Linked DNA regions of Homo sapiens: region 1 is linked to region 2. Evidence: promoter capture Hi-C in 16 types of primary human blood cells and fetal thymus (Javierre and others, 2016). All regions are on one chromosome and are shown on one strand. The core of a region is centred on a gene start or on the middle of the fragment in contact, and the rest is flanking DNA. Distances in the headings are between cores, read along the strand shown. Region 1 overlaps DCHS2 (dachsous cadherin-related 2). Region 2 holds the start of DCHS2 (dachsous cadherin-related 2).

What was found. Contacts are between HindIII fragments. The CHiCAGO score rates a contact against its expected background, and 5 or more counts as called.
Region 1: a contact is called between a fragment that was not itself captured here and the fragment with the promoter of DCHS2 in region 2, in 1 of 17 cell types (naive B cells). The highest score is 6.2, in naive B cells.

The regions. Positions count from the first base shown.
Region 1 is chr4:154,347,981-154,351,484 of GRCh38, forward strand. The region is part of intron 3 of DCHS2 (dachsous cadherin-related 2); the gene reads right to left. Among named protein-coding and RNA genes, the nearest start is that of DCHS2, 140 kb to the right of the region's middle. The HindIII fragment of the contact is 3,147 bases long and covers 67-3,213 here.
Region 2 is chr4:154,490,041-154,493,087 of GRCh38, forward strand. DCHS2 (dachsous cadherin-related 2) reads right to left here and starts at 1,759. Exons shown (of 20, transcript NM_001358235.2): 1 at 1-1,759. The coding sequence starts at 1,315. RefSeq lists enhancers at 1-543, 544-1,499, 968-1,107, 1,158-1,337, 2,140-2,189. The HindIII fragment of the contact is 6,491 bases long and covers 1-3,047 here.

The DNA.
Region 1 (3,504 bases), core at 390-2,889, 140 kb before region 2:
TCTTATAGTTTGCATGGGGTTTACAATGTGTTCCCCTAAGTTAATATTTCAAAATCTTTTCAATAAAGCTTTCTGATTTTATAAAGCTGGATACTGACACAAGTTGGCAACAGGGATGTGGGCTGATAGTCCCTTTTTGGGAGGCCCAAATACATTTCCAGTGGACACAGATGGCTTAACTATTATTCTCTCTCACTTTGTCATTTGAAACACTGATCATTTGAGAGAATCAACTCTGAACACCACTATTTACACCAATGCACCACCAACAACAGACATAACACTAATTTAAATATTCAGTTTAAAGGAAATAATTTACTTAAAGCAAAACCCAAAACCCTTGAAGACCTGAACCTGACAGTGGTCCTCACAGTTGCGGGAGTACCATGGAAAGGTCATAAATTTGGCAATAATTGAGAAAAGAATCGAGTATTATTTTAAGATAACATAATTTTAGAAAGGTAATATAGTAAGTTGGATCATGTCTCACCAAATTTATGTCCACTTGGATCCTCAGAATATGACCTTATTTGGAAAAGGGTTTTTGTAGATATAATTAGTTAAGGATCTCAAGAGGAAATTATCCTGGTTTTAAGGGTGCCCTAAATCCAATGACCGGTGTCCACACACAAGGAAGGACACAAGAAGACACAGAAAAGAAGGACATGCAAAAATGGAAACAGAGATGAGAGTAACACTGCCATAGACCAAGGAGTGCCAAAGATCACCAACAAACACCAGAAGCTAAGGGAGGTTCCAGAAGAAACTAATCCTGTTGACACCTTGATTTCAGACTTCTGGCCTCCAGAACTGTTAGAGAATGAGATTCTGCTGTCTAAGCCACCCAGTGCGTGGTGCTTTGTTATGGCAGCCCTAGGACATGAACACCAGCAGGAGGCGTATGGTAAGGTGGGAACTCTGAAGCCAGACTGTCTCAGTTCACATTTTGGTTGTCACTTTCTCATTACGTTTATGGGCTGTTGATCTTTTTTGGATTCATTTGCTCATTTGTGAAATGGAGATAAAACTAGTTCCTATATCAAAGGTTTGGCATGACAGTTAAATCAGGCAGTTAATGCTCAATAAATATTGCCAAAAGACAAAATGACAACAAATTTAGTTTAAAGATCTTAATTGGCTTTTATTTGCAATTCTAGAGTTGAGAAACACCTCGATGTGTTCCAGTGAGCTGAGCAGAAGTGGCTGGCTTTATAGACAGAAAAGGAAAACAGAAACAGGGAACAAAAAGTCATTTCACAGTTACTTTCCTTGTAAAGGTTAAATCAGATGGGACTTTCTTATCATGCCAGCTAAAATTGGCTCATTTGGGGGTTTGGCTATTTATTATCCCTCTCTCTCCTGATTTCTTGGAAGGTCAAATAGACAACTTCATTTCAGCTTGGTGGCCATGAAACTTTAGCGTGAGTGACTCCATTTTGGTCTGGTCTGTTGGGCCTAGCGCAGGAGCTCCGTTCAAACCAATGACTTCCTATAAATTTTATTTAACAACACTCATTATGATTTACAGACTGTGTTTCTATGTCCCTGTATTTCAAAAGCATATTATTTCTGCCTTCTCCTTACTTCATGGGAGGATTTGTGACAATGGACACAAACTAATATTTTTATAAACATGGTGAATATGACTAAACCTTTGTTTCTATTATTACTATCCTTTCATGTCTACTTAGGGTTCAACAACTAAGGGAAATCACAGCCTTTATGGTAAAACTCATGCATTTTTTGTGTGACAGTTGTAACCAAATGCTGATTCACATGATATGTATTTAAACGTGTTGCTACGATTAACAGATAGTTGATGAATACTATTTAATTAATAAATCAGAAGCCTTATTTTGGAGTTTTAGAAAAATAAAAGTTAGAAAATGCATAGCTAGTTCCAGAAATAAAATACCTGTGAAATGATGATAAATAAAAATGCCTTCCACTTCCTTTCATTTCATTCTATAGTCTTGGTTCTATCTCTGAGTCTGGAATCTGCTCATTTGAAATTTTCCATTGTGATAAGGTGAGCAGGTCCTGGCTGCTCCACCTACTGGTGTTACTTGATAGAAATCATGAAACTTCTCTCAGCAACTGCTTCTTCATTGGAAACATAAGGAAACGCGTAGGCTCTACCTTACAGATCTCTGAGGAACTCAGCTAACAGGACACAAGTAAAGAAAGAACTGTAGCATGAGCACATGGTGACTGTTCAATAACTTTCTGAAAAAGTTGTTCTTATCTCCAAGACATATTACCCTGAATTTCTTTGATTTTAATTACCTTAACATGAAAGCTCTCATCACAAGCCACAACTTAGATTATACATCTAACAACTAGCACCAAAAACAAGCAAATCATTGGAAAATATCTCTGCAGAAAGGACTACATAATTAAAGAACAATCTGTGAAGATCTGTAGTTTTTTTTAAATTTTTTTTCAACTTGAAGGTGAAACTGTACATCTATGCTTTGCCAACTGACTACTTTCTGGGGCTGATTTGAGTCATGTGCACACACTGGTCCCCAGACACACAAAACAGAATCAAGGCCTTGGCTTACAGTGACATTGCATCTGTAAGAGCCATGTAAATACCTGCTACTTGGTATCTTCTACATCTTAGATATTTATTTTTATTCTAAAGCCAACCTACATATCCATAACTGCACAGCAACCATTTATACATCTCTATATTTGTGATTTTGATTTTTAGGCAACACTTACCATCTATTTTTTTTGCTATCAATCTCATCACAAAAGGTATAATCACATGTATTTTGTATATTGGAAAGTAAATTTACCAATATTAACTTTAGGTAGAAGATGTCAGAAAATCCTTTTAATATTATTTTTGACCTTTATTTTCACCAACAGCAATAGGTTAGTGTCCATTAAAAAGATGAGCTTTACAAAAGTGCAAGGTTTCAAAAATTATTTGAGAAGTCAGATCTCAGGGAAAATGCAGGAAAAGAAGGGATGGCCAGAGGTTCAGGAAGAGGGACACCCATTGGCCATGCCTTCAAGAAGTTCTTGTTCTGGTTTGCTGACATGAAAGCTATGTCAAGGAAACTGCCTTCTAGTGATGAAAAGATTCATTTAGACAATGGCATTTGTGACGGATTTGTCTTATGTTCAGCATGACCAGTGAGAAGCAGAGGGATTTGGGGAATGGTGGACAACAGGTGGGAAAAAGGGGGCAATTGAAGGAAAAGCTTTTAAGTGACTCCAATAAAGTATGTACCAAAAGATGGTCCTTTTGTCAGGAAAATGCTAATAAGGGATTACACTACAGACTCTCAATGGGAGTGTAAAGAGGAGTTGTGTGGGCAAATTTGGAGGGGGTTGTAGTCTAGAAAGCATATTCAAATACTTGCCATTTTTATAATACAGTTCAAAAATTGCAGAAATTAATGCAACTGCAATAAAAACATTACAAAAATATTTAGAGTGGTATTATTACTGAAAATAGAAATCTATAGATGATATAGGTTTAGCAGATTG
Region 2 (3,047 bases), core at 509-3,008:
CGCGAGCCACGTAGTCGCCCGGTCGGGCGCCTTCAGAGACACGGGCGACGCCTCCCTCTGTGAGAAAGAGCACGTGAATTGCTGGCCGGTTGTCATTCACGTCCAGCACGGCGATGGACACGCGCACCGTGGCAACCTCAGGCTCGGCGCCTCCATCGCGGGCCTCCACCACCAACTGGTGCCAGGCCTGTGCCTCGCGGTCCAGAGGTCTCCACACTCGCACCACGCCGCTCAGCTCCTCCACCGCGAAGTAGGCCGCGTCGCCCAGTGCCCCGCCGCCGCTACCCGCCCCAGGCACTTGCCGGGCGCGGACGCTGTAGCGCACGAAGCCATTGGGCCCCAGGTCGCGGTCGGTGGCGCGCACGCGACAGACCTCGGCGCCCGGCTGGGCGTCCTCGCGCACCGCGGCGCGGTACTCGTCCTGCTCAAAGACCGGCGGGTTGTCGTTCTCATCCAGCACGCGCAGCTCCACGCTCAGGAGGCCGGTGCGCCGGGGTCGGCCGCCGTCCCATGCCTCGATCTGCAGCCGGTGCGCCGCCGCCTCCTCTCGGTCCAAGCGCCGCAGCAGCACCAGATCTAGAGGCTCCAGGGGTGACGAGGAGCCTGGCAAAAGCGGTGACGGTAGTGGCCCCGGAGTCCGGTAGCGCAACTGGAAGAACGGGCCTGCGGGGTCCTTGGGCAGGTCGGACGGTTGCACCAGGGTGTAGCCCTGAGTGCTGAACAGTCCGGCGTCCGGATCGTGGGCAACTGGCAGGCGGAAGGCGGTCCCTGGCGGGCTGAGCTCGGAGACGTCGAGTTGCAGGGAGTCGAGGGGAAAGCGGGGCGAGTGGTCATTCACGTCGTTGACGCGAATCTCCACCTGCACCACAGCGCCCAGCAGCGTGGCGGCGACGAAGCTGTAGTGGTCCCGCCGCTCGCGGTCCAGGCGCCGCGCAGTGCGGATGATGCCGGTGTCCGGGTGCACGTGGAAGTCGTCCAGCAGCGGGGAGTCATCGGAGTCCTCCGACAGAAAGAAGCCGCTCCCCTCCTGCTGCTGCGCGGCCGGCAGCCCGGCGCGGATGTCACCTACCAGCGTGTCCGGGGGAAGCCCCTCATCTACGGAAAGGGTGAGGTTGAACAACTGGGCAGAGGAGCCCGAGGCCGCCCACAGCCACACGTGCACCAAGAGCCAGAGCAGGGAGCGCTGCGTCCTGGCGCCGCTGCTGCCTGACCGCCCATGGGGTGTATCTCTCCTCCCGGGGAGCAGAAGGAGCTTCCCGACCGGAGCCCGCCGCTGCTGACGCCCTTCGCCCATCTTCCGCCCACAAGGGCTCATTTCTCCTCCAGCTCCTTGGGAAGGCTCTCGGGTAACTGCCAGCTTGTGGCAGGATCGCAGAAAAATCCAGGAGCCTCTTCAGTGTCTGAGCCAGAGAAGAAAAGACTTTGTTTGGCAAACAAACCGACGGCCCAGGAATTCCCGAGGTTACATCTGCAACTGGTGAAAGCGTCCTCTGCCTGCAGCTCACGCAGACAGGGAAGTAAGCTCTAGCTGCCTCTGCCGCGGCAGCCACCTCTTCTGCCCCTGGATTTCTTTAAACGAATCTCATCTCTTTTTCTCTCTCCTTTTATTCCCTTTACATCTGTTCCTTGTTCTACTCGGCTGGTTGTTCCCCCCTGGTAAAGTCAGGTGCATTATTTCTTTTGCCAAAAAGGAGGAGATTATATGAAGCGCGCACACACAAGGAGAGGATGGGGATCTGGCCGGAGTAGGGGGTGGAGTAAGGGCGTGGAGGCAGGGAGTCAGGGCGCTGGGGAGGAGGGAGAGAGGGAGGGGGGAAGGGAGGTCTGCGGCCCTGTCCGCTGCTCCGGGGGCGGGGCGGTGGTTCCCCACTGTGTCTCCGGGCGCCAGGGACCGCGCGACTCCTGCTCCGACCCAGCCTCCGCCGCCTGCCTTCCCCTCCCTGCCGTGTGATGCGGCGCACACGAGGGCAAACTCCAACCTGCGAGCCGCGCTCTGCAGCAGGGCGGAAGAGGAGCAAATGCAAAAGCACTGGGAGACGTGCACCGCGGGGCGGGTGGGGGACGCGCAGGCGGGGCGTCTGCCTGGGCTTGGCCAAGTGCCAAGTGATGATGGGTGCGGGGAGGTGAGAGGAGCGGCCTCTCCGCGGCCTCCCCCTCCATCCGCTTGACCGTCCCTCTGCAGGCCTGACTCTTGGCTCGCGCTGAGCCAAGAGGGTAGAGGTTATCATCACTTTGGGGTGCCAAACTTGTGTTCTCCATTTGGCGAGAGGGACTCCCGTCCGCAGCGGAAGGACAGATGGAGTCAAAGGCCGATGCATAGCTGGGGCCAGGATGGCTTTAAAGGGGAGAAGGCGGAACTTGGAAAAGCCTTCCAGAAAACCCGAGAAATCTGTGGCACACATGGTGCAAACCACACTTTATTATGCGTGCTACTACCCAGCGACGTGTGAGCCTCTTGTCACTCCCCTCTGCCACCAGGAATGACGACAATATATCCGCCCTGAGAACCCTTTTTCTACATTCAGCGCCATCATAACACTTCCAGGATGTCTGACGATGCTGACTGATGAGCAGAAAGCCCTGGTGGCTGACACCCCGCAAGCCCTCAGCGCTCCCCCACCACCCCTAGGCAAGGAAGTGTGCAAGCGGGATAACTCTACGGATACCACTTTCAAAACTAGCTTCTGTCTGAGCCGAACGCAAATGCCAATAAATAGCCATAGTCGCAGATTTCCCTTCAATTAACTATAATAATCGGTAGAAACTGATCAATGGCCTCTAATAAAGTACGCCTGAGAAAAGACTCTCTGGACTCTTAAAAATGGCTGACCATATTTAGCAAGTGGTTTCTGCAATTTTGCATTTGGGCCTGAGAGAAGAATTAATTTCCTAGATACCGTTTCTCTCCTTTAGGGAGGACCAAAAGCCCTGCATAGTGGTTTCTTGCAGCAACAACAAAATGCCTTTTTAAATGTGCAACGGAGGTGTATGTAATTGCTAATCCACAGCCACACCGTTATCTCTACCTGTGACCAAATAACAATAAA